Linked DNA regions of Homo sapiens: regions 1, 2 and 3 are each linked to region 4. The links are contacts of gene promoters, found by promoter capture Hi-C in blood cells and fetal thymus (Javierre and others, 2016). All regions are on one chromosome and are shown on one strand. The core of a region is centred on a gene start or on the middle of the fragment in contact, and the rest is flanking DNA. Distances in the headings are between cores, read along the strand shown.

The links. Contacts are between HindIII fragments. The CHiCAGO score rates a contact against its expected background, and 5 or more counts as called.
Region 1: the fragment with the promoter of KLK4 here is called in contact with the fragment with the promoter of C19orf81 in region 4 in 3 of 17 cell types (erythroblasts, total B cells and neutrophils); the score reaches 11.1 in erythroblasts.
Region 2: the fragment with the promoter of KLK9 here is called in contact with the fragment with the promoter of C19orf81 in region 4 in 2 of 17 cell types (M2 macrophages and M1 macrophages); the score reaches 7.3 in M2 macrophages.
Region 3: the fragment with the promoter of KLK13 here is called in contact with the fragment with the promoter of C19orf81 in region 4 in 8 of 17 cell types (M1 macrophages, M0 macrophages, naive B cells and 5 more); the score reaches 10.8 in M1 macrophages.

The regions. Positions count from the first base shown.
Region 1 is chr19:50,907,238-50,912,758 of GRCh38, reverse strand. It overlaps KLK4 (kallikrein related peptidase 4), which reads left to right and starts at 1,364. Exons shown (of 6, transcript NM_004917.5): 1 at 1,364-1,420; 2 at 2,010-2,081; 3 at 3,345-3,507; 4 at 3,930-4,180; 5 at 4,264-4,400. The coding sequence starts at 2,021. The HindIII fragment of the contact is 22,926 bases long and covers 1-5,521 here.
Region 2 is chr19:51,008,181-51,013,606 of GRCh38, reverse strand. KLK9 (kallikrein related peptidase 9) reads left to right here and starts at 4,015. Exons shown (of 5, transcript NM_012315.2): 1 at 4,015-4,102; 2 at 4,268-4,424. The coding sequence starts at 4,060. KLK10 (kallikrein related peptidase 10) reads left to right here. Exons shown (of 6, transcript NM_145888.3): 6 at 1-868. RefSeq lists an enhancer at 3,632-4,132. The HindIII fragment of the contact is 11,592 bases long and covers 1-5,426 here.
Region 3 is chr19:51,063,422-51,069,306 of GRCh38, reverse strand. KLK13 (kallikrein related peptidase 13) reads left to right here and starts at 4,215. Exons shown (of 5, transcript NM_015596.3): 1 at 4,215-4,291. The coding sequence starts at 4,240. The HindIII fragment of the contact is 5,030 bases long and covers 2,835-5,885 here.
Region 4 is chr19:50,647,460-50,652,775 of GRCh38, reverse strand. C19orf81 (chromosome 19 open reading frame 81) reads right to left here and starts at 3,331. Exons shown (of 5, transcript NM_001195076.2): 1 at 3,265-3,331. The coding sequence starts at 3,331. It also overlaps a transcript of SYT3 not described here. RefSeq lists an enhancer at 4,398-4,447. The HindIII fragment of the contact is 10,880 bases long and covers 1,057-5,316 here.

The DNA.
Region 1 (5,521 bases), core at 115-2,614, 260 kb before region 4:
ATCCGTAGAGCGCAAGCCAGCAGACCAAGCCTCCACGCCATCCTTGGCCCCTCTGCTCCTGGCCCCCCACTTTCCATCCATCGGGCAGTAACTTGGCTCCACATGCAGAGGGGACCCCGTGTCCATTCACCTCTCTTCTCCCTTGACCCCGTCACCTCCCACCTGGGCTGTTGCCACTGCCCCCCGCCCCGCCCCCACCATCACTCTCCAAGCTGGAAGTTTTTAAAAAGTAAATAAGATTATGTCACTCCATCCTCGTGCTTAAAATCCATTGCACTTAAGTAAAACCCAAGCTCCTTAATCCTGGTACGTAAACTCCTGCAGGCCCGCCCGGTTCCCGGTCTGCGCTCCTACCCGCCCTGCCCTCCTACCCGCCCTGCCCTCCTCTGGCTGGAGCCAAGTTCTCCCCTGCACCCCGCAACCGCCCCTGCTGCGGCGACCCTCCTCCTCCTCTTCCCTGGGATCTCAGCTTAAATGTTCCCCTTCTCTGAGTCTCCCCGACCACCACCTTATATGCTGGTCCCTGCAGTTTTCCTTTATGGTCTGTGCCCCCGGGTAGGACGCGATCCCCAGTGACGAGGACTTTGCTGGTTCCTCCTGTGGCCCCAGCACCTGCCGCAGAGCTCGGAGTGTGGTAGGCACTCAGCTGCTTTTCACTGAGCGAAGACTTTTTAGTTCTCCCGCTCACCGAGAGCCTACAATGTGCCTGGCACTGTGTGCCTTTCCCTGAATTACCTCTTTGAATCCACTTGGGAAATGGGGCATAATGGTCACTCCAGTTTTACAGTTGGAAAAACAGGCTCACAGGGGTGCAGTCACTTGCCCAAGGTTCCAAAAATAGTTCGTGATGTAGGCTGGATACGAACCTGGGGAAATTTGCTGGAGAAGCACAGAAAGAGAGGGATGAAGGAGGAGGGGAGAGAGAGAGAGAGATTTAATTTAAAAAGAGAAAGAACATGAGAGAGAACAGGAGAGAATGAGAGGAAATGAAAGAAAACACGAGAAAAATAATGAGAGAGAGAATGAGAGAAAGAAAGAAGAAGAGAAAGAGAAAATGAGAGATACAGGCAAGAGAGAGGTATCTCATGAGAGAGAATAAGAACATGAAAAGAGAAAGAATGAGAGAGAGAGAGAGAAAGAAAAAGGAGAGTGGAGTCTAGGATCTGGGCAGGGGTCTCCTCCCTGGGTCCCTAGACCCTGCTGCCAGCCCCTTCTGGGCCCCCAACCACTGCCTGGTCAGAGTTGAGGCAGCCTGAGAGAGTTGAGCTGGAAGTTTGCAGCACCTGACCCCTGGAACACATCCCCTGGGGGCAGGCCAGCCCAGGCTGAGGATGCTTATAAGCCCCAAGGAGGCCCCTGCGGGAGGCAGCAGGCTGGAGCTCAGCCCAGCAGTGGAATCCAGGAGCCCAGAGGTGGCCGGGTAAGAGGCCTGGTGGTCCCCCACTAAAAGCCTGCAGTGTTCATGATCCAACTCTCCCTACAGCTCCATGTCGCTGGATTCTCAGCCTCTGTGCCTTCTGTCTCCACATCTCTCTAGACAGATCTCTCACTGTCTCTAGTTAGGAGTCACTGTCTCTAGTTAGGGGTCTCTCTGTCTCTCTGAATCTATATCTCCATGTCTAACTCTCAGACTGTCTCTGAGGATATCTCTCAAGCACTCTGTCTCTCCGGCTCTGATTCTCTGTGTGTCTTCCCTCCATGCTTGTTTGTGGGTGGCTAGACACCATCTCTCCCCATTCACAGATGGCTAGATGCTTTCTCTAAACTTTCCTTTCTACCTAGTTCTCTCTCTCTCTCTCTTTTCCCATCTCTCTCTCTCTTTTTCTCTCTCAGTCTCTAAATCTGTCTCTCTAGGTTCTGGGTCCATGGATGGGAGAGGGGGTAGATGGTCTAGGCTCTTGCCTACCTAATAACGTCCCAGAGGGAAGAAAGGGAGGGACAAAGAGAGGGATGGAGAGACTTGGGCTGAAGATCCCCAGACACGGCTAAGTCTCAGTCCTCATCCCCAGGTGCTGACGTGATGGCCACAGCAGGAAATCCCTGGGGCTGGTTCCTGGGGTACCTCATCCTTGGTGTCGCAGGTATCTGAGTATGCGTGTGTGTGTCTGTCCGTGCTTGGGGGCACAGTGTTTGTTAATGTTCAGGTGTGACTCAGTGTCCTCTTGCTTGTGACTGCAAAGCTGCCTGTGAGACGGTACCGTGTTATCCGTCCCCCATGGCTGTGCCCCTGCAACTCCTTGTATCGTGGTAAATTTGTGTGTGGCAGTGTGCCTGGGTGTGTGGTTGTACCTGTGAGACTCTGACAGTTTGTGCCTCTGAATATCTGGTGGAGTGACAACAGTGTAATGATGATATGGGGACAGGGGAAGCCGAGGGTGCAGGAGATTGTGCTTCCTGGGGCGTGATCCATTGCTGGGAATCTGTGCCTGCTTCCTGGGTCTTCAGTCCTGAGATCCCCCTCTCCCATCCCCAAGGAACTCACCTCACAGGACTATAAAACGGTGTTTTGGTGTGCATGGGCTTGTGGCTTGGTGTGACTGTGGGCAAGGCTGGGAGAGGATAGGAGTGACTCGGCGCAGGACCGACTCTTTGAGCATCAGTCTGCGCAGACAAGTGACCCGATCCTTGCTCCCAGCAACAACTCCACCCCCTGAGCTTTAATTCACCCCGAAGGACCCGATCCTACTGCTATGAGCCTAGACTCCTCTGTTGAACCCCTCCTGACCGTGGCTTTGCACCGCGATGGCACCAGTCTCACCTCCAGAGCTCACCCCAGAGCCCTGACTCCGCCCCAGAAGCCCTGGTCCCACCTTCTGAGACTGCCTCTAGCCATAACCCAGCTCTTGAAGCCTTGATGGCGCCCCTGCGCTGTAACCCCAACCCTAGGAGCACTGATCCCGCCTTCTCAGCCCACCCCCATGCCCTGACTCTCCTCCCAGGAGCCCTGACTACCCTGAATCCCTGACCAGGCTCCTGCACCGTGATCACCGCCCCTGGGAGCCCTAGGCCTATATCCTGGACCAGCCCCTGAAGCTCCGATCATGACCCCTGCACCATAACCCCACCCCCAGGAGCCCTGGGTCCGCCCCCTGGGCCCGCCCCCAGCCCTGACTCGGCCCCCCAAGAGTCCTGACTGCTCCTGAAGCCCTGACCACGCCCCTGCTCGGTAACCCCTCCCCCAAGAGCCCTGGGCCCGCCTCCTGAGCCCGTTCCCAGCCCTGACTCCGCCCCGAGGAGCCCTGACTGCTCCTGAACCTCTGACCACGCCCCTGCTCGGTAAGCCCACCCCCAGGAACCCTGGGCCCGCCTCCTGGTCCCGATCCCATCCCTGACTCCGCCCTCAGGATCGCTCGTCTCTGGTAGCTGCAGCCAAATCATAAACGGCGAGGACTGCAGCCCGCACTCGCAGCCCTGGCAGGCGGCACTGGTCATGGAAAACGAATTGTTCTGCTCGGGCGTCCTGGTGCATCCGCAGTGGGTGCTGTCAGCCGCACACTGTTTCCAGAAGTGAGTGCAGAGGTAGGGGGAGTGGGCAGGGCCTGGGTCCGGGGGCGGGGCCTAATATCAGGCTCATCTTGGGGTGCTCAGGGGGAAACAGCGGTGAAGGCTCTGGGAGGAGGACGGAATGAGCCTGGATCCGGGGAGCCCCAGAGGGAAGGGCTGGGAGGCGGGAATCTTGCTTCGGAAGGACTCAGAGAGTCCTGACTTGAAATCTCAGCCCAGTGCTGAGTCTCTAGTGAACTAAGGCAAGTTCTTGTCCCTGAATTTTTGTGAATGAGGATTTGAGACCATGGTTAAGTAGCTCTTAGGGTGTTTAGCGAAGAGGGTGGGGTTGGGGTTAGGAGATGGGGATGGGAATGGGGTTGAAGATGAGAATGGAGGTAAGGATGTAGTTGCCACAAAACTGACCTGCCCTCCGTGGCCCACAGCTCCTACACCATCGGGCTGGGCCTGCACAGTCTTGAGGCCGACCAAGAGCCAGGGAGCCAGATGGTGGAGGCCAGCCTCTCCGTACGGCACCCAGAGTACAACAGACCCTTGCTCGCTAACGACCTCATGCTCATCAAGTTGGACGAATCCGTGTCCGAGTCTGACACCATCCGGAGCATCAGCATTGCTTCGCAGTGCCCTACCGCGGGGAACTCTTGCCTCGTTTCTGGCTGGGGTCTGCTGGCGAACGGTGAGCTCACGGGTGTGTGTCTGCCCTCTTCAAGGAGGTCCTCTGCCCAGTCGCGGGGGCTGACCCAGAGCTCTGCGTCCCAGGCAGAATGCCTACCGTGCTGCAGTGCGTGAACGTGTCGGTGGTGTCTGAGGAGGTCTGCAGTAAGCTCTATGACCCGCTGTACCACCCCAGCATGTTCTGCGCCGGCGGAGGGCAAGACCAGAAGGACTCCTGCAACGTGAGAGAGGGGAAAGGGGAGGGCAGGCGACTCAGGGAAGGGTGGAGAAGGGGGAGACAGAGACACACAGGGCCGCATGGCGAGATGCAGAGATGGAGAGACACACAGGGAGACAGTGACAACTAGAGAGAGAAACTGAGAGAAACAGAGAAATAAACACAGGAATAAAGAGAAGCAAAGGAAGAGAGAAACAGAAACAGACATGGGGAGGCAGAAACACACACACATAGAAATGCAGTTGACCTTCCAACAGCATGGGGCCTGAGGGCGGTGACCTCCACCCAACAGAAAATCCTCTTATAACTTTTGACTCCCCAAAAACCTGACTAGAAATAGCCTACTGTTGACGGGGAGCCTTACCAATAACATAAATAGTCGATTTATGCATACGTTTTATGCATTCATGATATACCTTTGTTGGAATTTTTTGATATTTCTAAGCTACACAGTTCGTCTGTGAATTTTTTTAAATTGTTGCAACTCTCCTAAAATTTTTCTAATGTGTTTATTGAAAAAATCCAAGTATAAGTGGACTTGTGCAGTTCAAACCAGGGTTGTTCAAGGGTCAACTGTGTACCCAGAGGGAAACAGTGACACAGATTCATAGAGGTGAAACACGAAGAGAAACAGGAAAAATCAAGACTCTACAAAGAGGCTGGGCAGGGTGGCTCATGCCTGTAATCCCAGCACTTTGGGAGGCGAGGCAGGCAGATCACTTGAGGTAAGGAGTTCAAGACCAGCCTGGCCAAAATGGTGAAATCCTGTCTGTACTAAAAATACAAAAGTTAGCTGGATATGGTGGCAGGCGCCTGTAATCCCAGCTACTTGGGAGGCTGAGGCAGAAGAATTGCTTGAATATGGGAGGCAGAGGTTGAAGTGAGTTGAGATCACACCACTATACTCCAGCTGGGGCAACAGAGTAAGACTCTGTCTCAAAAAAAAAAAAAAAAAAAAGACTTTACAAAGAGATGCAGAGACACTGAGACAGATAAACAAGCCACAAAGGAGACAAAGGAGAGACAGACAAACAGAAACAGACAGACCACAAGCCCAAGAGAAGCAGCCAGCATTCAGGACATAGGACATCGGGAAGCAGGATTAGATGAAGTCAGGGATCTGGA
Region 2 (5,426 bases), core at 2,766-5,265, 360 kb before region 4:
CTGAAAATACAAAAACTAGCCAGGCATGGTGGCAGGCACCTATAATCCCATCTACTTGGGAGGCTGAGGCAGAAGAATCACTTGAACCCGGGGGGCAGAGGTTGCAGTGAGCCAAGATTGCACCATTGCACTCCATCCAGCCTGGACAAAAGAGCAAAACTCCATCTCAAAAAAAGAAGAAGTTTGAGTGTCTCAGCTTATCCTGAACTTTGAAGCAGTAACATAAGCTAGCTGAATATAGGCACAACAGAAATTTCCCATTAAGCACGGGGTTTTTGTTTGTTTGTTTGTCCTTTCAGTTACCAATTTATGGAGCATCTATTATGTGCCAGGCCCAGTGCTGGGTGCTGGGGACATACGTAGGGGTGATCACAAGGTCCCCCACCCTGCAGAGCCCACAGGAGGTTGATGTACAAGGTCTGAGCACACAGCTCCCTTCCGTGGCCTCTTTCCCATTCTGCCCCCATTAGCACACGCAGGAAATGTCAGACAGGCGTATCAGCTGGGTTTGTCATCCAAAGACCAGAAGCGAGGTCGGTGGAAACTTGAAAACTCGATTCATTATTAAAGGCAACTCACCCGTCCCTTTAGTCACTCCACAATGTTTATCGAGCCACGTCTTATGCCAGGCCTCAAAGATGAATCAGACCAGGCACTACCCTCAAGGAGCTGCTAGTTAGGTCAGGGAGACAGGCCAGTCTTACATTCCTGTCATTCAGGTCTCCACTCAAAAGTCACCTCCTCCGGGAGGCCTTCCTGAATTGCCCAGGCTATAGGAGTCCACTTTTGGTCATCCAGTCCCGATGCTCTGTTTTTTGTTTGTTTGTTTTTTTTTTTAATAGCACCTATTATACCTGAAATTATCTCATTTGTGTTTACTTGATAATGGTCTATGTCACCCTTCCCCACAAATTCCGTGAGGGCAGTGATTCAGATATTTGTTCACTGTGATTTTCTAAGCTCCTGTATTGTGCCCGGCACACAGAAGTCACCCCCGTTGCTGTGTGAACACATAACACAAATAGATCAGTGCTGTAACAGAAGGGGGTATGGGGTGCACCACACCAAGTCCACAGGCTGTGCCTGAAGGAGTCAGGAAAGGCTTCTCAATGAGGGGACATTTGTGCAGGAGTTTAAAGGATAAGTAGGAGTTCACCAGGTAGAGAAGGAAATGCATTTCAATCACTTTGCTGTATGACTTTGAGCAAATTACTTGAATGCTGTCTCTTCCTCAGTTTTCACTCTGTGAAATGGAGACACCTGCTTAATTAGACTCCCGTGAGAGTTAAATGAGATAGGCTGGGCGCAGTGGCTCACTCCTATAATCCCAGAACTTTAGGAGGCTGAGATGGGTGGAATGCTTGAGCTCAGGAGTTTAAGATCAGCCTGAGCAACATAGTGAAACCTCGTCTCTACTAAAAAAAAAAAAAAAAAAAAAAAAAAAATTAGCCTTGCATGGTGGTGCACACCTTGTAGTCCTAGCTACTCAGGAGGCTGAGGCAGGAGGAATACTTGAGTCCAGGAGGTTGAGGCTGCAATGAACTATGATCATGCCGCTGCACTCCAGCCTTGGCAACAGAGACCCTGTGTCAAAAAACAAAAAACAACAACAACAAAAGGATAATTAAATGAGATAATATACATGCAAAGTTCACCTAACACCAGGCACTGAGAACACAGTCAATAAAGGTAGCTATTAAAATGCTCATTTTTTTTTTATTTTTCTTTTGAGAGTCTTGCTCTGTTGCCCAGGCTGGAGTGCAGTGGCACGATCTAGGCTCACTGCAACCTCTGCCTCCCGGGTTCAAGCAATTCTCCTGCCTCAGCCTCCCGAGTAGCTGGGATTACAGGCCGCCCGCCACCATGCCTGGCTAATTTTTGTGTTTTTAATAGAGTCAGAGTTTCACCATGTTGGCCAGGCTGGTCTTGAACTCCTGACCTCAAGTGATCCACCCACCTCGGTCCCCCAAAGTGCTGAGATTACAGGCGTGAGCCACCGCGCTTGGTCTAAAATGCTCTTAATAGCAGTTAAGGTGGCACTTAGCACATAGTGGATACCCAGTCCCTGATCTCAAGGACTTCCCTGTCTGGAAAGGGAGTGAGACAACTGCAGGCAAGGGTGAAATGAGCTATGATAAAGGCACCACAGGTTTCTGCAGGGGATGAAGAGACATTGAACATTTACCATGTGTCAGACACTGTTGTGCTTCATGTGTGTAAATTTGCTTAATCCCCCCAACGACCCTCGTTATTACTGCTACTTAACAGATGGAGCAGGCCAGGTGCGGTGGCTCACGCCTGTAATCCCAGCACTTTGGGAGGCTGAGGCAGGCGGATCACGAAGTCAAGAGTTGGAGACCAGACTGGCCAACATGGTGAAACCCCGTCTCTACTAAAAGTACAGAAATTAGCCAGGTGTCTTGGCGCACGCCTTTAGTCCCAGCTACTTGGGAGGTCGAGGCAGGAGAATTGCTTGAACCCAGGAGGCAGAGGTTGCAGTGAGCTGAGATCGCGCCACTGTACTTCAGCCTGGGTGTCAGAGCAATACTCCGTTTTGGAAAACAAACAAACAAACAAACAAACAAAAAACAGATGGAGCAACTGAGAGAGGTCTTGTGACTTGCCCAAAGTCACACACCTCATCACTAATCACACCTAATCATTGAGATTTGGACACACATGGTTCAGTTCCAGAGTCCATGCTCCAAACCATGACGACACAGTGAGAGAACATTCAAGGGGAGCCCAGACCCAGCTTCATAACCAGGCCTGTGAGCAGGAGAAAGTGGAAGGGATCGTAAGTGCCCAGGGGAGGCAAAGATGGACTCTGCCTGAGGATCTCAGAGATTTCCTGGAGGAGGGAGAATTGAGGTTGGGTGTTGAAGGATGAGTGGGAGTTCACCAGGAAAAGAAGGATATGGAGAAAGACATTCACTCATTCAATGAACATCTCCTGAGGACTTCTGCAAGCCCTGTTCCGCCTGGAACGGGGTGATGCTGGGACACAGAGATGAGTCAGACCTGGGCCCAGCCCTCCAGAAGCTGTCCACCTGGTGAGAAGGAATGATGAGGAGAGAGGCAGGGAGGATGGGGTGATGGAAGGGACAATGGGGTGGGGGGCAGGGAGATGGATGAAAAAAATATATAGCAAATGTTCTCAGGATTTGGCAAAGATCAGGATGTATTAAGAGAGAGCACAGGGCACTTGCTACCTGGAAGGTTGGGCACCTGGGTCCTTGGGTGGTGGAGCCGTGGGGAAGGGGGCAGGTTATGACAAGAGTGGGTTAATCCAGATGGAACCAGATTTCTCAACATTCTAGGAGAGGGCCTTGTCCTTGTGGGAAGAGGCCCAAATCCCCAGGGCAGGGAAGGTTCTGCAAGGTGTGTAAACCTGTGCAGCTGCCTGTGGTCTCTGCCTCACTCCACCTGGATTTCCCTCAATCTTTCCCGTGTTCTGTCTCCTCCTCCCACTCCTCCTCTCATCTTGGGTCCTTCTGTGCCTGTACCTCCCTCTCTTTGTATCTTTTGCTCTTGTGTCTGAGTCCTGACTCTGTCTTCCACCCCTCGCCTCCTTTCTGGGTGGTCCCCCTGCACATCCCTCCAGCCTGCCGTGGGAGGTTGGTCTCTGCACACCACTGCTTTATCCAAAATAAACCTGCTGCACCCCAGGACCTTAGGCTTCAAGGATCTCCCTCCTTTTCCAGGACACAAAAGATTCTGTATCTTGTAGCCTAAGGTGATGAGGAATGAGGTCTCCCACTCTGAAGACCCCAGAGGAGGTGCCCACAACCTCTCCACACCCCCAGCACTCCTCCTCCATTCAGTCAAGCTCTGGCCCAGCAAGCCGCCAGTTCATCCCAAAAGGGGGGTCCCCCTGCACTTACCTCCTCTCCCAAGGCCCCTGTCACAGCCCCAGGGCTTCCCCCTCCCCCAGGTACATTTCCCAACCCCGATTAATCACAGGGGCGGCCCCATGGAGGAGGAAGGAGATGGCATGGCTTACCATAAAGAAGCACTGGACGCCGGGTGCACGTTCCAGGATCCAGGTGCCCAGGGGTCATGAAGCTGGGACTCCTCTGTGCTCTGCTCTCTCTGCTGGCAGGTGAGGCTCCCAGGCTGGCTGCCCCTTCACGGCTGTACTAAGGTCACCTTGCTCTTCCCTCCCATCCCAGGCTTCTGCCTCCTGCCCTCTAGGCTTCTCAGCATCCTCTCCCTGCCCTCCCAGCCTGCTCTTCGCTGACCCCTTTGTCCCTCATCCCCACCCCAGGGCATGGCTGGGCAGACACCCGTGCCATCGGGGCCGAGGAATGTCGCCCCAACTCCCAGCCTTGGCAGGCCGGCCTCTTCCACCTTACTCGGCTCTTCTGTGGGGCGACCCTCATCAGTGACCGCTGGCTGCTCACAGCTGCCCACTGCCGCAAGCCGTGAGTGACCCAGGCTGGCCATGCTGGGGAGGGACAGAGGCTGGGGGTCAGGAGAGGGTGAGGGGTGCTTTAGGCCAGAAGTGCGGAGCCTCCACTTCTGATACCACAAGTTCAACTCTTAGAAGTAGGAAGGGTAGCCTCCCAAATCCTAAAATTCTAGAGACCAGCAATATCTCATTTGAGAAGTCTAAGATTCGAAACTTAGGCTCTTCGAATCCGAGACTGACCCAGAGAAATCCAGAATCGTAGAATCCTAAAATCTTGAATTTATGAAATTCTGCAATAGCCTCAGCAAATTTTAGAATCATAGATTCGCAGACTATTAGAATCTTAGCAGTCTGGGTCAGCACTGCCCAGAGGAATTATGATGCCAGCCACATGTGTAAGTTTAAATTTCTGGTGGACACATTTAAAAAATAAGGAATGAGTAAAATTAATTCTAATAGATTTAACTTGACATACCCAAAAACTTATTTTGACATGTAATCAATTTTTAAATACGTATGAACGATACAGTTTACTTTTGTTTTGGTACTAAGCCTTTGAAATCTGTTCTGTATTTTACACACATAGCCTGTTACAAAATGGACTAGCCACATTTCAAGTGTTCAATAGCCATAATGGCTAGTGTGATCCTAGAATCTTAAATTCAGAGCTTTCTAGATTCATTGAATATTGAAACTCACAGTACTAGAATCTTTGATTCACAGTATCCTAGAATATTGAGATTCAGATAATTCTGTAGTCTTAAACTATTTGAATCCCAGACTCTTAAATTTCTAAGGTTATAGATTTATAGAATGATGACATTCTAGTCTTTCTTTTTTTTTTTTTTTTTTTTTTTTGAGACAGAGTCTCCCTCTATCTCCCAGGCTGGAGTGCAGTGGCACAATCTCAGCTCACTGCAACCTCTGCCTCTCGGGTTCAAGCAATTCTCCTGCCTCAGCCTCCTGAGTAGCTGGGATTACAGGTATGCACCACCATGCCAGGCTATTTTTTTTT
Region 3 (5,885 bases), core at 2,966-5,465, 420 kb before region 4:
AGACGGCCCTTGGATTCAGTACCGTGGAGGTCACTGTTGCCCTAAACAGGGGCATGGTTGGTACAGCAATGGGAGAGAAAGCCTTCATAGTGTGGGCTCCAGGGAGGACGGGAGGACAGGAATTGCAGGCAGTGAGCTTAGCCAACTTTTTAGGGAAGGATTGCAGTTGTACAGAGCAGAAAATGGGCCAGGAGCTGAAGGAGAACATGAGAGTGGGGAGAAATTTTTGTTGGTTGGTTTTCAAATTTTAACGAGAGATGGGAGAAACTGTAGTATATTTGCATGCTAATGGGGCTGCTCCTTGGAGAAGAAGGAAAACATGTTGCAGGAAAGAGAACAGAGAACTGCTGGCTGGAGCAATGCCCTCCAGAAGGCAAGAGAGGACAGGATACCAGCACCAGTGGAGGCATCTATCTTAGCTGCAGGTGCAGACTGTTCATCTAGAGAAATGGGAGAGGAGACAGAGGATGTGGGCACGCAGGTAGGTGGCAAGACCGACCTTTCTAATTTTTGCTATTCTGATGGATGAAAGCGATGTGTTATTGCTGCCTGGGATGCATGATGACTGGAGCCACATCCTGAATAACACGGATCCAGCTCTAAAGAAGAATCCATGTTTCTCAACTCTCTGTGCCTCTTTCTCACCAAGAGTCTGCTTCTCACTGGGCATCTCTCTCTTTCTATCTCTGTGCCTCTGTCCTCTGAATTTTCTTTCTGTCCTCTCCCACCTGCCCCATCTTTCTGTCTCTGTGTATTTAGCCCTTTGTATCTCTCAGTCTTCCCCTCCCTTCATGTTTGCGTTGGGGCCCCTCCTCTGGGCCTGGGTGTGGGGCCTACTTTCTCATCCCAGCTAGCACTTCCAACCAGAAGTTCCAGTTCCTGCTTGACAAAGAATCCCATTTTGAAGCCAAGATAGGGAGGGGCCTCCTGGAACCGTCAGATGCCTCCATCTTAAGCTTTACTTATTTAACAGGAGCATTGTGGCCCTTGGTCCATGCCACACTCTCTTCGAAGCATTTTTGGGTATTAATCCAGTTAACCCTTCTCCATAAGGCAAGTGCTATTGATTGTGCCATTTTACAAATGGGGATGCTGAGGCACAGAGCAGTCACATCATCTGAACTCAGGCAGTCTAGCTCCAGAGTCTGAGGTCAGAACCACTAGGAACACCATCTCTTTTTCGGGTCCTTTCTTCTTCTTTCTCCAGCCCGGTTCTCTGTGGTGGAGGAAAGACCTGCACCTGTGACAGAAGCGCACTTGGATTTGGTCCAGTTTGTGTGTGACTTTCAGCCGTGGGCTTGTTCATCAAGTGAGGGGGTGGAAGGTGCCCAGCCCTCAGTGGGTCCATGACCTCACTTCAACCAGAGCTACCCAACCCGCGTTCGGCCAATCATAACCCCTAACATCAATTTGACCTGGCACTCACCCCTCAGCAAATAACAAGGCCAACCACCCTCACTCCAGGCTCCAGCTTTTCCCAAGTGAGAAAGGCTTCTCTGGAAGCATGGACCCAGGTCACAGGAGGGTACAAGTACCCCGATTTCCCACATAAGCTGGTTGCCGCACTTAACCTGGCATCCTACCTCCAGCCACACCACCTGAACACAATTCCACTCAAAAAGTGAACTCAGACCCCGCCCTGTGAGGTGGGAGAAGTCCAGGGTGGAGAAAGACAGTGACCTTTCTTTCACCTTGAGAGGTGGGGTATGACCCAGCTCACCCCCACCAAAACCTACTGCATCATAGACACTCAACCTCATGGCCAGTCCTCATCACCCATGTCAACCCACTACCCCAGCTCAACCACATCTTAACATTTCCCCATCCAAAACCTCAATCTTGGTTCCATCTTCAGCCCCAACCCAACAGTACCCCAACACCAACTTATCCCTAGATACCTCCCATCTTACAATCTAATCCTATCCCAAAACCAGCTCAACTACCACCTCCAACTCTATACCCATCCTCATCCAATTTTCATTCACCTCCCCAAACTCATTGCATTCCTAATGTTGTCATCAGGCCCATCCTTAACCATAGACTCTACTGATTTCCTATATTAAGCCATATTTTTCTTCTTAGCAAAATACTTTGAAATGGACCCAACATTGGACACTGAGGTGTCGCCAATGCAAAGTTAGATGGGTTATCTGATTTTATGAGGTCTCTGTACCCTTTCCTGTCTTTGAGCCACTTTATGACTCTAAATTGTAGGTATCTGAGAGCAATGCAAATAATTCTTGTCCATAAATGTTTACATGAATTTTGCCAGGTGGAAGTACAATGGATTTCCCTCCTCCTCCCAGTGTGGAATAGCCAGTTTTGCATCTATTTGTAAATTCATTTCAGCATTCCTCGTTGTCTCTGTGCATATGGCTCTTTGTAACATCTTACTGGCTCTGCCATTTATTAATGAGTCAAGATACAATCTTTGACACATGTTCATTTCATATATGTCAGAGAGTCATGGTAAGACCATGTTTTAAAAGTTACCCTTTGACACTAGATTTGATCTCCACATCCAAATCTGAACTCCATCAATAAGGACTGTACAAGTTTCCATGTGAGCCCTCGCCCCATCCATCTCTATTCTTTATCCTCATTGTGACACCTCCACTCTCTCACTCTTTCCAAACTTCATCTGGTCCACGTCCCTGGCTTTCTTCCAAATTCTGACCCCACCTCAGTCCTTAATCCCTAATCCTGTCCCCTCCACCCCCTAGGATTAACTCAGGGCTCCACCCAGTCATAGTTCCTGGAGACACCTACTCATTCTCAAAACACCACCCCTTCCTCCTTCCTCTCCCCCACCCCCAATCCACGTCTTCAAAGCTTTCCGGCTCCTGCTTTTTCCTCTCCACCTAGGTCCCCGTGGACTCCCTCACCCCCTCTGGCCCTGCTCCTAAAAGGCCATTTCTGGAAAATGTTGCTTTCTCAGGTCGCATCTCTGCCCCCATCCAAGTCCGAGGGAGCTGATTTTCTATCCACCCAGCTGATGATTTCCTTCTTGTGTCCGGTGGTTGGCGGGAGCAGGGAGGCAGGATGATGGGATAATTGTGGGTGTCCTTGTGTCTTTCAAAAGAAAAAGGGTTGAGATGAGACTGGGAATTGGAACCTGGATGTGTTGAGAGCTAAACCTGAGATGAGGTTGGAGATGGGACTGGGGTTGAGGAACAGGCTGGAGTACTTGGTATGGTTAGGGATGGATAGGGAGGTGGGAATCTGATAGAACACGGCCATCTGGGGGCTGACTGCCTATTAAGAATTATGCATGGGGTTGGAGAAGAGGTTAGAAAACTGGGTGCAGAATGGGTTGAAGTTAGGGATGGGCATGGAACTCAGCGGGGTAGGGGGAAGGAAATGGGCTTTCCCCTTACCCTTTTTTGGGTCCTGAGGCCTGAAAGTTCACAGTGGGTTCAACTCTGCCTTGGGCGGGGTCAGACCTAGGTCCCAGCACGTCCTGGAAGCTCCGCCCCAAGCAGAGGGCCAAGCCCAGGTCGGGGGTGCCTGGAGACATCCCGCTGAGCCACTGGGGGTGGAGAGGGGGAGGCCAGGGACCAGGAAATGCTGAGTGAGCTGGGGGAGGGAGTTCAGGGGTTAAAAGCCATGGTTCGGGGCTGAAGTTCTAGACAGCTGGCGGCTGACGCTCCTCGTGGGCCCCTCACTCAGGTAGGGTCTGCCTGGGGCGGGGGCGGGGAGCGGAGGAGGGCAGGGAGGGGAGAGAAGAGGGGATAGGAAGGATGGGGAAAGCAGAAGGGCAGCTGAGTCAGGGAGAGGGAGAGTGAAGCTAGAGTCTCAGATCTAGAGAGAAACCTGCAGAGACGGAGAGAGGCGAAGGGCGCGGACAGATAAGAACTTGGGCTAATACCAAGCGTGTGGACAGACCCAGAGGGGTAGAATGGAAGGCAGACTCTGGAGGAAAAGGGCGAGAGTGCACCGACCACCCAGCTCGCCAGAGGGCAGGGGAGGAGGGACGGCTTCCTGGGGTGAGGGGCTGCACGCCGGAGCCCCAGGAGGTTGCACACTGTTCCTCCCACCTCGCCACTGCACCCCCACCAAGGATGGAATTGGAGGCGGGGGGCAGATTCCAGGGTCAGGGCTGTCAAGAGTGAATGAGGCGAGGAGACATTCAGGAGCAGAGAGGTTTCAGACGCGGAGGTTCCGGGCACGCCCTCAACACCCCCTTCACCTTCTCCTCAGGCCCCGCCCGCCCTGCCCTCCCCTCCCGATCCCGGAGCCATGTGGCCCCTGGCCCTAGTGATCGCCTCCCTGACCTTGGCCTTGTCAGGAGGTAAGAATGCGCGGGGGTGGAGGCGCGGCGGCCATTCGGGACAATGGTAGGAGGGGTCAGGCCGGAGGGGGAGGGGGCGTGGGAGCCGCGAGCTCCGCCCCCCGCCCACTCGGGGCCGGGTCCAGTGGGGACAGCTCAGAGCTCTTCCTGCTTGTCCCTGGGTGACCTGGTTTCCCGGCTGAGGTTGGCCCTCCGACCCCAGACCCTTCACCTCCCAAAATACCCTCGCAGCAGCCCCTCCCGCGTTCAAGGCTTCCTGTCCTCTCTGGAAAGCTGAAAGACATGGGTTCGCGTCCTGACGCTGCCGCTTTGAGCCAGTAGCCTAGCAGCTGCTTTGTGCCTAAATTGTTTTCATCTGGAAAATGGGCTTAATCTATAAGTGCTTACCAGAGAAGGTCACTGTGAATATTGAAACGAGGTAATGCGTCGAGCCTTCAGTATGTCGCAGGTAGAAGGGACTTGAAAGTTAGCCACTTAGCCGTTATTACTTTATTAGTAGTATTCCTTTTTTTTTTTTTTTTTTTTTTTGAGATGGAACCTTGCTCTGTCTCCCAGGCTGGAAGGCAGTGGCACGATCTTGGCTTACTGAAACCTCCGCCTCCCGGGTTGAAGCGATTCTCCTGCCTCAGCCTCCCGAGTAGCTGGGATTACAGGCGCCCGCCACCACGCCCAACTAATTTTTGTATTTTCAGCAGAGACGGGGTTTCGCCATGTTGGTTAGGCTGGTCTCGAACTTCTAACTTCAAGTAGCCCGCGTCAGCCTCCCAAAGTGCCAGGATTACAGGCATGAGCCACCGAGCCCGGCCTCTAGTATTCTGTCTTCATACTCAGCCCCTTCCAGAACCTTCTAGATTGTTATTTTAATCCTTGGGTTGACCCCAAACCTATGTGACCTCACCCCAAATTGGTAGTCCTTAAGATCCTTATGGATCTTTCCCATCTTTCCCTGCCGTTGTAGGCAGGTTCTCTGGAAACCCCGTTCATGAATCATTTATTCATTCAACAAACAGCTATTAAACACCGGCCACTGTGCTGGGTGCTGTACAAGCAGAGACACAGTCCCTGCTCTCAGCACCTGGAGTCTAGCGGGGACAGACGCAGATGTTATTCAAACAATTATCCAAATAATTAGTTAATAATTATCTTGACATGAGGTGAAGACTTCAAGGAGCCAAGCCAGGGGCCTAGAGATGTAATGGCGGCTTCCCGACCAGAGGCCTTCCCAAAGGGCTTGACCCTTGAGCCAAGACCTGAAAAAGGAGGGATCTGTGGGTGCCTGGCACCTGGCACCATCCTTGGCCTGAAGGTGGGGTGGCTTTTCTCCTCTGGCGACACTCCCTGGATTCATGCCCGTGCCACTCCTGAGTGCCACACCCTAGGCTAGGAGACCCACACGCTACGCCTTGTGGAGTCCTCAACAACCTGGCGAGGTAGGTGCATTGTAATTACTCCAATTTCATGGCAGAGAAACCTAGGACTCAAAGACAGAAGGCTCCTGCTCCAATGACACCGGCGATGCCTGAGTCAGAATCCTAATCAAGGTTGTTTTCCCTGTCCATATCCTGGACTTGAGGCTCTGAAAACCATTTTTATA
Region 4 (5,316 bases), core at 2,082-4,581:
TTGACATGTAGACCTGACCCTATGGCCCCTTCCTCAAAACCCTCCCAGGACTTTTCATTGTCTGTGGGATGAATAAAGTCCAAAGTCCTTCCAGTGACCATAAGACCACACGTGATCAGACCGTGCTAGTGTCTTAAACCTGATCAAGCACAATCGTCCTTTTCACCTGCTGCAGTCCAAAAACGCTGTTTTTCTGCGACTTGGACTCTCTGACCCCTCCTGCTGCAGGATCTTGGCCAATGCTGTAACTCTGCGTGGATCTCTCTTCCCCCTCATTTGGCTAATCAAGTCTCCCTGAGGGTCCACTGATGCCATTCCTCATAGCACAGTATGTTTGTACTCATAGTATTGCAATTTTACCTTTATTTCTATGATTCCCTAATTACACTCTGTCTTCCCTACGTCTTCTGAGCAACGTAAGGGCAGGGACTTGTGTTTTCGTCCCCAGCATCTAGCAAAGTGCCAGGCTTATAGTTGTCCTTAGTATTTATTGAATAAAGCCTGAAATGTGTGCACTTTGTTTGGGCCCTAATTTAAACAAGCCAACTATAAAAAAATACAATTTTGAGATAATTAGGGAAATTTAAATATGTACTAGGTATGAGATGATATTCAAAAATAATTATAGGCCGGGCATGGTGGTTCACACCTATCATCCCGGCACTTTGGGAGGCTGAGGCAGGAGGATCGCTTGAGCCCAGGATTTTGAGGCTGCAGTGAGCTACAATGGTGTCAATTCATGCCAGCCTAGGTTACAAAGTGAGTCCCTGTCTCAACACAATAAATTAATTTTAAAAAATAGCCTTGTACAAGCGTTAAATGAATCAAAAAGTAACTCTAGCAGCATCAAAGATGCATGTGAAAAAATGTGAATACAATAGTTTCTCATGAAATATGACATTAGAAATAAGAACTATTTCTAGTTACAACAGTGATTTTAATATATGTAAATGTATTTAATACATTTAAATGTATATGTGTAATTAAATTAACATAAGCATAAACTTAAAAATAAGTACTTATTGAAAAATTGAGGAAATGCAACCATTTCAAGCTTTTTTTTTTTTCCTTTGGTGACAGAGTCTCACTGTGTTGCCCAGGTTGGAGGGTCATGGTGCAGTCATAGCTCACTGCAGCCAGGAACTCCTGGGCTTAAGGGATCTTCCTGTCTCAGCCTCCCAAGTAGCTGGTTAAATTTTTTTAACAGGCATCTCAGAGGGCCCCTGTGTGCCTTGGAGGATGCTGGGGACCAAGAGATGAATGAGACACACCTCTGCCCTTTCAGAACTCTCAGATAAAGGGCAATGTGTGTTTCAATGAAAGTGTTACAAGGTGGAGGGAAAGCCCAGTCTCCCGGTCTAGGGGCAATCAGGGAAGGCTCTCTAGAGGAGGTGTCCACAGTGAGACCTAAAGAATAAGAAGGTATTTACCAAATAAAGAGGTGACAGAGAGAAGGATGTTTCCCATGAAGGGCCTAGCATGGGCCAAGGTTTTTGAGCAAAAGAGAAGAGAGTCACCTGCAAGAACTTCCCAGAATTCCCTTGAGCCCCAAGACTAAAGAGCGCTTATTGCCATTGGAGGCTATGAATGATCTGTGAGATGGCGTGTTTCACGTCTCCTCTCCCAGCATGAGAACAAGCCAGGCCGTTTCATCCATTAGGCACTACAGGCAAAATGCTTGGGACCCAGGGGCTTTCTAATGGCCTATGCTGAAGTTTGCAACCTGATCAACTAAAAAATGTGATTGGTTCCACAACGCTGCAAAGAAAACAGCAAAATCGAAATGAACAAACGTCGATCAACAAAACTAGCCAACTGGTCGACTCAACTCCACTTGACTTTTCTGGAGCTACATATAAATTACATGTCACGTGGGTGCCTCAGTCTAGGCTAGAGATGGTGCATTGTGGGGTCTCCAAAAGAAAGATGCCTTCAAAAGCACTAAAAGAGACCTAAAGGCAGAGAAACAACGCCTGTTTTGCCATCAGGGCATTTGTTCGGCCTCGAAGGCTGAGGTGGGAGGATCACTTGAGCCAGGAGCTCAAGGCTGCAGTGAGTTTTGGTTTTGGGTGTTTTTGTTTGTTTGTTTGTTTGTTTTGTTTTTTGAGACAGAGTCTCCCTCCATCACCCAGGCTGGAGTGCAGTGGCACAATCTTGGCTCGCTGCAGCCTCTGCCTCCTGGGTTCAAGCGATTCTCCTGCCTCAGCCTCCCTAGTAACTGGGATTACAGGCACCCGGCACCACACCTGGCTAATTTTTGTATTTTTAGAGATGGGGTTTCACCATGTTGGCCAGGCTGGCTGGCCTTGAACTCCTGACCTCAGGTGATCCACTCACCTCGGCCTCCAAAGTGCTGGGATTATAGGCGTGAGCCACCACACCCAGTCCTGAGTTTGGTTTTCTATTACCTGCAGTTACATGCATCCTCACTGAGATACTACTCCATAAATGTTGAATGAGTGTAACTGCATGAGCTGTGCTACAGCACAGAGTGCTAGCAGGAAGTGCTGGGCTAGGAGCCTGAAGTTGTCAGCAGGGGTCAGACCACACAGGGCCTCAAAAGCCAGGCTGGAGCTTTGGGTCTCTGTCCTAGAGGTGACAGGAAGCTAGGAAGTGTTATGAGCAAGGGACAGCCAGGATCACTGCAGGAAGTCAGAGAGACCTCTCTGGAGCCATGGAGGGATAGGTAGGAGGAGAGAAACTGGGGACCAGGGAGGAGGTGAGGAGAGGGTCCACATGGAAGAGGATGAGACCTGGGACAGGGCTGCGGGGACAGAGAGGAAGGAATGGGGAAGGGAGAGTCAGAGGGCAGGAAGATAGGGCCTGATGGGCTGTGGGAGGGAATTGTGGGAGGTGGAAGGATGGCACCAGTGACTGGGTTGGCGGTGGGGCCATTTGAAAATGGAAACCAGGAAGGAGGAGAGCAGCTTTGGGGGAAGATGCTGAGCTCAGGGTGGGAGACAAGACAGTGAGGTTACCTAGGAGAAGAATGGCCTCAGAGGTGTTGCTTAGGCCCCAGAGGCTCATGGGAAATGTAGTTCTGAGTCCAGGGCATTGGCCAAGGAACTGCAGAGGCTCATGGGAAATGTAGTTTGAGGTCCAAGGGGGCCGCTCTCCAGGAATCTGGTGAATCCAGGAATGCTAGGGATGGCTTTCACTTTGGAGTGCCAGTGACTCGCTTAAGGCCACACTGTGAGCCCGGGCTACTACGCACTGCCTGGATGGAGGAAGTCCACCCCTTCCCCCAAAGACACAGCTCAGTACCTGCCTTCCTGTGCATGGTGGGGCTGCCCATGGCAGGGAAGCACACGGGCTCCACCTCTGGCTGCATCCTGGGAAGGTGGGTGAGGGATGTCTCAGGAAGGTGGCAAGAGAGGCTCTGCCTGGGCCACCCACCCCAGCTCCTTCTCCCCACCGCTGCCTCCTCTACCTCCTCTTTGAAGCCCCGGGGTAGAATTACAGAGGAACTGGAAGGCTGAGACCATGTGGAGATCTGGGTTCCCCTGACCTCAGGGACTCCCTGTGTGCCCCAATCCCTTCTTTCCCATTTCCCTGTTTTTCCTCCTATCTCTCTCTGTCTCCTAGAGTCCCTTTCCCCACCCCTCTCTCTCCACCTCCCTTCCTCATTCTCTCCCCATCTCTCTGCCCCCCTGCCTCCTCCCCTCTGTCCCCACGTCTCCACCACTCTTTTGCTTGATTTCTCTGCCCTCCTCCTCCCTCCTTCTCTCCTGGGCTCCATCTCTTCAGTCTCCATCAGTTTCCCCAGCATCTCCCCAGGCCCCCGTCCCTCCTTGTCTTCATCGTTTTCTGCCTCTCCCTAACCCCGTCACCCTCTCTCTGTCTTCCCACCTCTCACCAGTCTCCTTGCCCCATCTCTATCCTCTCCTAGCTGCCTCCACTGCCCCCTTGAGGCCCCCTCCCCTCTGTCATCCCCTTTCTGTTCCCACTTGCCCTCTGCTCATCCCTGCCCCAGCCAGGAACTGGTTAGAAACAGGCGAGATTCCAACGAAAGTGGGTTCTCTAGTGGGGAGGGGATGGTGGGCAGGGGGCCTGGTTGCCATGGTGCCTCCAGAGGGAGGGGGAGGGGTGGGGGCCTGGATTCCTGGGTCTGAGGGAGGAGGGCCTGGGGTCTGGACTCCTGGGTCTGAGGGAGGAGAGGATGGGGGCCTGGACTTCTGGGTCTGGGGTCTCACGGGGCCTCTCGTGCTAGAGAGAAGGGGTCTAGCCGTGTAGGTGCCTGTTCAGCATCCCTTTCTCTGGGTCTGCAGAGCTCTCTGCAGGAATTGTGGGAGAGGAAGCTGGACCTTCGCTTATTTGTTTTGTCTGTCCTTGCAGTCTTTGTCTCTGTTACTTGTATCTCTTTCTCTTCCTCTTTCTCCACATCCAGATGGTCTCTGGACTGTCTGTTGTTCCTGCTTACTAAGTATTCGTTCTAGGTGGTGGCACCTTGATTTCCTCAGTGATTTGTTCAGTGGCGAGCTTAAGAATCAATCTAGGCTACAAAGTCAACCTTTGGACTTTTGCTGGACCTGTTAGAAAACAGGGTTTTTCCCCTGTGGTTTTGGGGCTGGTCAGAGCCAGGGTTGGAGCTCTCGGTGCTACCACATCACCATGCAGGGAGATAACTTGCCTGAGAGCAAAGACAACACGAGGGAAGCATAGCCCAAAGATACAGACAGTTGGATTCCTGGAGATGATTGGAACACCTGGATCCAGCAATGCCTGAAGCCCTCATCCAATCAATAAACTTCCTTTTATGCTTAGGTCAATTTGATTTGCGTTTCCGTTATTAGCAATTAAAACAGTCCAGATTGAAATAGTCTTACTCAGTTCTGGGGGCCCTGACCCCCTCCTGGCATCTTCACATCTGCTTCTCTCCCATCAAGCTGTCTTCCATTTCCAGCTGGCAATTTTATCTCAGCGGGATGGAGGACATGATTGCCTTGACCACAGGCACACCTGACCCTCACAGCCTATCTGTCTCCAAGTTCTATTCCTTCTGCCTCTCCTTCCTCTCCTCTCTACTCCCATAGCTCTAGCAGCCACTCAGACCTCGTCCTCTCCTGCTGGGACCCTTGCCCCAGCCTCCTTTTTTGTTTGTTTGTTTTTGAGACAGGGTCTCACTGTGTCCCCCAGGCTGGAGTGCAGCGGTATAACAGCCTTGACCTCCCAGGCTCAAGCAATCCTCCCACCTCAGTCTCCCGAGTAATGGGGACCACAGGCCCACACCACTACGCCCAGCTATTTATTTTTTTTAAGATGGAGTCTCACCGTGTTGCCCAAGCTGGTCTCAAACTCTGGGGCTCAAGCAATCCT